2 separate regions of the Homo sapiens genome follow, and region 2 is linked to region 1. Evidence: promoter capture Hi-C in 16 types of primary human blood cells and fetal thymus (Javierre and others, 2016). All regions are on one chromosome and are shown on one strand. Each heading gives the region's core, a stretch centred on a gene start or on the middle of the fragment in contact. The rest is flanking DNA. Distances are from core to core; before and after follow the strand shown.

The links. Contacts are between HindIII fragments. The CHiCAGO score rates a contact against its expected background, and 5 or more counts as called.
Region 2: a fragment that was not itself captured here is called in contact with the fragment with the promoter of UPF1 in region 1 in 1 of 17 cell types (megakaryocytes); the score reaches 5.3 in megakaryocytes.

What each region holds. Positions count from the first base shown.
Region 1 is chr19:18,830,446-18,833,878 of GRCh38, forward strand. UPF1 (UPF1 RNA helicase and ATPase) reads left to right here and starts at 1,514. Exons shown (of 24, transcript NM_002911.4): 1 at 1,514-1,995. The coding sequence starts at 1,765. RefSeq lists silencers at 1,318-1,577, 1,698-1,797, 1,948-2,037, 2,048-2,127. The HindIII fragment of the contact is 13,345 bases long and covers 1-3,433 here.
Region 2 is chr19:18,643,172-18,646,692 of GRCh38, forward strand. All of the region lies in intron 1 of KLHL26 (kelch like family member 26), which reads left to right. Among named protein-coding and RNA genes, the nearest start is that of KLHL26, 7.9 kb to the left of the region's middle. The HindIII fragment of the contact is 374 bases long and covers 1,462-1,835 here.

The DNA.
Region 1 (3,433 bases), core at 264-2,763:
AATAAATGAGCTACTAGTCACTCTATTTATATTAACATAAATAAATATATATTAATATACACACACACACATAGGATCTCTGTCACCCAGGCTGGAGTGCAGTGGCACAATCATAGCTCACCGCAGCCTCAAACTCCTGAGCTCAAGTGATTCTCTTGCCTCTACCTCCTAAAGTGCTGGGATTTCAGGAAAGAGCCACCTTGCCCAGGCTTCCTATGCCACCTTAATGGCAACAGAAACCCTAGGCTCAGAGAGGTTAAGTCACTTGTATAATTTCACACAGCTGGTAAGTGGTCAGGTCTAGAGTCCACCACAGACCATGTGCTTCCAGTTGTTTTGCTGTATACGTCCACTAAATAATAATCATAGCAAAAATAGTAATGGTATAATAACAGTGGCAGAGGCATCAGGAACAGCAGCAACCATCATTTCCAAGTGCCAGGCCCAGTACGTAAGACTATCCCCATTCATTTATTTTTACTTATTTTTGAGACAGGGTCTCGCTCTGTCACCCAGGCTGGAGTGCAGTGGTGCAATCTCGGCTTACTGCAGCCTCAACTTCCCAGGGTCAAGCGATCCTCCCACCTCAGCCTCCCTAGTAGCTGGGACTACAGGTGCGAACCACCACGCTTAGCTAATTTTTTTTTTTTTTTTTGAGACAGAGTCTCACTCTGTTGCCCAGGCTGGTGTGCAGTGGCACAATCTTGGCTCACTGCAACCTCCGCCTCCTGGGTTCAAGCGATTCTCCTGCCTCAGCCTCCTGAGTAGCTGGGACTACAGGCTCGTGCCACCACGCCTGGCTAATTTTTTGTATTTTTAGTGGAGACGGGGTTTCACCATGTTAGCCAGGATGGTCTCGATCTCCTGACGTCATGATCCACCCGCCTCGGCCTCCCAAAGTGCTGGGATTACAGGCGTGAGCCACCGCGCTCGGCCTAATTTTTATATTTTTTGTAGAGATGGAGTCTCACTCTGTCTCCCAGGCTGGTCTCGAACTCCTGAGTTCAAGCAGTTCTCCCGCCTCAGCCTCTGAGTGTTGGGATTACAGGTGTGACCACCGCGCCGAGCCCCACTCCCTTTTTAAACCAATGCACAGGGAGCATCTACTATGTGCGAGGCACCCTCCATTTTACAGATGGGGAAACTGAGTTCCAAGCAGCTTTTGCCAGGAGTGGGAGCGCACCGTCCCTGCCCAGTCTCTCCAGTTGGGCGTTCCGAGACCACCTATGTAGGGTATTCGGCTAGCGCTCAATTAAACCGAAACACCGTCGCAGCGACCACAGGTGCAGACCACCAAGTCCACACCGCCAGCCGCCCGGGCGTCCCCAATTAGCAGTTGGGGCGGGACCAAGTCCTCGAGCTGCCGCCGCAGCGGCGGTTGAAAGCCCCACCCCCTGCGCGTGCGCGGTGCGCGTCCCGTCTTCCTGCTGGGCACCAGGCGCCCGCGAAGAGCGCGCGCGCTTCCGCCGGCGTCGGGCTCGCGCACGCGCACGGCGACGGCGGCGGTGGCGGCAGTTCCTGCTCTAGGCTGCGAGCGGCTGGCGGCTTCGAGGGGAGCTGAGGCGCGGAGGGGCTCGGCGGCAGCGGCGGCGGCTCGGCACTGTTACCTCTCGGTCCGGCTGGCGCCGGGGCGCGCGGTTTGGTCCTTTCCGGGCGCGCGGGGGCGACAGCGGCAGCGACCCGAGGCCTGCGGCCTAGGCCTCAGCGCGGCGGCGGGCTCGAGTGCAGCGCGGAACCGGCCCGAGGGCCCTACCCGGAGGCACCATGAGCGTGGAGGCGTACGGGCCCAGCTCGCAGACTCTCACTTTCCTGGACACGGAGGAGGCCGAGCTGCTTGGCGCCGACACACAGGGCTCCGAGTTCGAGTTCACCGACTTTACTCTTCCTAGCCAGACGCAGACGCCCCCCGGCGGCCCCGGCGGCCCGGGCGGTGGCGGCGCGGGAGGCCCGGGCGGCGCGGGCGCGGGCGCTGCGGCGGGACAGCTCGACGCGCAGGTGAGCGGCACATGGCGGTGCCGGAAGCCCGGGCCCGGCCTCGGCGCCTGAGACCTGCCCCGAACTCGCCTCGGGCCCGGCCTGTGTTTGGCCGGAGTCCCCCATCGCGGCCGGGCCTGGGGCGATCTGCCCCGGGTCCCCTACTCTGGCTCGGCCTGAGCTTACCTGCCCCAGGTCCTGCAATCTGCCCGGGCCTGGCCTGATCTGCCCCGGGTCCCCCGCTCCGGCCGCGACCTGGCTGAGTTCCTTCGGCCCCCAACTCCTGGGCCGGGCAGACTTGCCTCGAGTCCTCCACTTCGTTCGGGACCGAGCTAACCTGACCCTGTTCCTTTACGCCAGCTGGGTTTGCTCCCCCTCCTGGGCCCGGGCTGACCTGCCTTGTGTCCCACAATCAGTCTGGCCTGGAGTAACCTGCCCCCTGACTTATCTGAGTTCTTCCATTCCATCCGGGCTAGGGTGACCTGCCCTGGTCCCTCTTTCGCAGGTCTCGGTATTCTGCCTCGAGTTCTCCTACGACCTGGGCCGGGTCTTGCTCAGGCCGGAGCTTGAGTGACTTCCCTCAGTCCCTTTCCGGGAGTATCCAGGGTGACCTGCCCTAATCCTGTCTCTGGCCTGGTCCGGGGGTCCTGCCCGGTCTCCCCATTGGTGGGTCTGGCCGCCTGTCCCACCTCCCATCTGTGGTCGCAGCCATCTGGGCACCCCACCTTTCACAGTCACGGAGCGTAGGTTCGACTTTCCCCATGCATAGGGGCGCTGGCCAGCGGAAGGTTGAGGCAGAGAAGAATTTTTGCCTCCCATGGAGGAGCACATATTGGCTGGCTATTAAGATCATTCAGGAAGCAGGTTGTATTTTGTTTTTTCTTGCATCGCCTGTTGCTGAAACCGACCTGTTACATAACTTCACAACTCTTGCCTTGGAAAAGTTGGGTTTGAGTTTTGTTCTTCCAATAAGACAGCAATAATGGCTTTACATAAACGAGTCTGCCACGTTGGAAACTTATTTTTAATGATGTGGATGTTTAGAGAAGGTTACTTAGGTATTTTAAATGGGGGCTTGGGTTGGGAGAAGTATCGGGCATGCATTTCCTGGTCCTGGGCGCTGCTTGCCTGGGGTGGGAGAGGGGCTGGGGGGGTGGCGCGTGTTGCACCGGGGTCCTGGGGAATGTCCTCATCACCCTCTGGATTTCAGGTTGCTTTCACCTTAGGCTTGCTTTGTGCCTGACCTCTCGCTCAGGTTTGTTTTCCTGAATGCTCCGACAGGAAGAAGCTCCGAGGCTTACCTTGGCACAGGTGTCCCTTGGCATATGCTGGTGTTTCAGAACTGGGGGAACCACTCCTTGCTCATCCAGAGTGAGCTCAGACCCTGTCCTTGCATGGGGGGCTTACGTGGTAGTCGATTGAGTCACTCTCGTGGGTAGACCACCCACTTGGGCTTTCT
Region 2 (3,521 bases), core at 399-2,898, 190 kb before region 1:
CGGTGGCTCATGCCTGTAATCCTAGGACTTTGGGAGGCCGAGGTGGGCAGATCACTTGAGGTCAGGAGTTTGAGACCAGCCTAGCCAACATGGTGAAACCGCTTCTCTACTAAAAATACAAAAATTAGCCAGGATTGGTGGCACGTGCCTGTAATCCCAGCTACTCGGGAGGCTGAGGCAAGAGAATCACTTGAACCCGGGAGGCAGAGGTTGCAGTGAGCTGAGATCGCTCCACTGCGCTCCCACCTGGGCGAGAGAACCAGACTGTCTTAAAAAATATATATATTATTTTATAGAGATGGGGTCTTATTATTATTTTTTTTTGAGATAGAGTTTTGCTCTTGTTGTCCAGGCTATAGTGCAATGGCATGATCTCGGTTCACCAAAACATCCGCCTCCTGGGTTCAAGCGATTCTCCTGCCTCAGCCTCCCGAGTAGCTGAGATTACAGACATGTGCCACCATGCCTGGCTAATTTTGTATTTTTAGTAGAGATGCGGTTTCTCCATCTTGGTCAGGCTGGTCTCGAACTCCTGACCTCAGGTTATCCGCCCACCTTGGCCTCCTAAAGTGCTGCGATTACAGGCATGAGCCACTGTGTCCGGCCAAGATGGGGTCTGATTATGTTGCCCAGGCTGGTCTTGAACTCCTGGGCTCAAGTGATCTTCCTGCCATAGCCTCCCGAAGTGCTGGGATTACAAGCATGAACCACTATGCCCAACCTGTATTTTTGTTTTTTGTTTTTGAGGTACTATATATGTAACACAAAATTCACCCACTTTAAGTGAACAATTCAGTGGCATTTAGTACATTCACAGAATTGTGCAACCATCACTGCTGTCCAGTTCCAAAACATCTTTGTCCCCGCAAAAGGTGACCCCATCTTCATTAGCACTAACCCCCTATTCTCCATTGCCCAGCCCCTGACAATCACCAATCTGCAGTCTGTCTCTATCCGTTTTCAAGTTTTATAGGTAGAATCATGCACTATGTGGCCTTTTGAGTCTGGCTTCTTTCACTCAGCATGATGCTTTGGGGGTCATGCATGTTGTAGCCTAAATCAGCACTTCATTCCTTTTTATGGCTGAGTAATATTCCACTGTGTGGATGCACCACATCATCCATTCATCTGTTGATGGACACTTAGATTGGTTCCACCTTTTGGCTATTATGAATCATGCTGCTATGAACATGAGTGTACACATTTTTGTCTAAACACTCATGTTCAGTCCTTTGGGGTACACATCTAGGAGCAGAATTGCTGGGGCGCATGCTTGTTGTATATTCTTGATCATGCTGGTCACCACCTAACGTTATTTGTTGTGTTTCTCTGGTGCCTTGAGGTTGGAAAGCCTGTCTCTCTTGTGCCCTCTTGTGTGCCTGGAACATGAATGACACAGAAGGAGGAAGTGTCCCAGAGACGTGGCTGAGAGGGAGGAAGGGAGGGATGGGGGTGTGCAAAAGCTTATTGCTCTCTGAGGCTTGCAGTCTGGCAGGTAGGAATTCCCTTCTATGGGATCAGGTCGATCTTTTGCCTTTCCAGTGAGGCTTGTGGGGCTGCTGGGGGGCAGTGGGGGCTGGCCTTAGTCTCTAGCTGCCTTTCTAGCCTGCCAGGCAACGCCCGCATCTGCCTTTTTGTCCCACGAAGGTTTTGTCTTTTGGCCAGGGGCGGGGGCAGTTCCTGTCTTCCCCCTGGCCCTTCCAGCGGTACCACAACTCAAGAAACTGTCCCCAGGAGGGACTGCGCTCCCCCACCCCCGACCGCCCCCAACGTTATATAACTTGTTTGTTCCAACTTCTGTCTTCTGCAACCGAGGGGGAAAAAAGAAAGAGAAAAGCTTATTCTCCTTCCTTCCTATCTCGAGGGATCAACAAAAAACCCGTTGCCTAGTAGAGGTGGTCATTAATGACTGAGCCGAACCTCAGGGATGGACAGAGTGGGGCTGCCCTGGCTGGGGTGTGCGGAGAGGAGGTGGGGTCCTTGCTGCAAGCACAAAGGACACTTGTTCACCAGCTGGCCTCCTCCCAGCTCGGGCCGCGGGGTCTAGACTCCTTGGAGGGAAAGGAGGCTTGGGCCACTTGGGGTGTCGCAAGGGGAGGCAAACCCTCTGGGGAGTCGCACCTCCCCAGCTAAAATTCTGTCACTGTGAGGTACCTGACCGGCAGAGTTTTGGAGGAACCTTCTGGCCTTGCAGCCTCTCCGACATGGGCCTTTGGCATCCACGCTTTTTGGCCCACGCTCCCTGGAGACGCCTGGGTAGGGCCCAGGCTCACTGAGTCATGCTGTTCCTGGGGGTGAGGTGGGGGGATCTGGGTGAGGGATGTGCCAGCTTCAGGCATTTGCATAAGAAGTGGTGGCTAGGCTGGGTGCTTTGGCTCACTCCTGTAATCCCAGCACTTTGGGAGCCCAAGGCAGGCAGATTACAAGGTCCAGAGTTTGAGACCAGCCTGGCCAACATAGTGAAACCCCCTCTCTACTAAAAATACAAAAATTAGTCAGGTGTGGTGGTGGGCGTCTTTAATCCCAGCAACTCTGGAGGTTGAGGCAGGAGAATCGCTTGAACCTGGGAGGAGGAGGTTGCAATGAGCCGAGATCCTGCCACTGCACTCCAGCCTGAGCGACAGAGTGAGACTCTGTATCAAAAAAAAAAAAAAAAGAAGTGATGGCTGGGACGTTGTGCCCAGGGGCTTTGCTGCCTGCTGAAAGTGTTTGCATGGAAAGTTGTGGCCGAGACGCTGCGCCCGGTGGGTTTGTCACAGTCAGTCTGGCTGGGTGGCCTTTGCCTGTTGAAGCTTTCTCCACAATCTAGATCATCTCCACCAAGCCCAGAGGCCTTGGAAGGGTCCAGCCCCCCAGCTCCTGCTAGGAAGACTTAGGGGAAGAGGTGGCTTCCCAAGGAGGTTCTTGCTACTTTGGGGAAGTTCTCATTCCTTTGGCCTCTTGCCCCTTTCTTTTTTATTATTATTAATTTTTTTTGACGTCACTCTGAGCTCAGGCTGGAGTGCAGTGGCATGATTTTGGCTCACTGCAACCTCCGCCTTCTGGGTTCAAGTGATTCTCCTGCCTCAGCCTCCCAAGTAGCTGGGACTACAGGCGCCCACTACCATGCCTGGCTAGTTTTTGTATTTTTAGGAGAGATGGGGTTTCATCATGTTGGCCAGGCTGGTCTCGAACTCCTGACCTCAGGTGATCCACCTGCCTTGGCCTCCCAAAGTGCTGGGATTACAGGCATGAGCCAGTGCGCCCGGCCTCATGCCCCTTTCAGAAGGAGGATTTTGACCCTTCCAAGACGTGGACTCAAGTCCTTCTCCTGGAAAATGTGGTCAGATATGGCGGCATGAGGTGTCTCATCATACCCATGGGTGACTGTGGCTCCCTCTTTATGGGTTGTGGCTGTGACAGATTCCTCATCTGGGAAATGGGGCTCCAGGCCCACCAGGTGGGGGGTGTCTGGGAGGAAACGAGTGGGGAGAGGTCACATGTACCTCATCAGTGTTACTGTGGCAGTGCTGACGCCCATG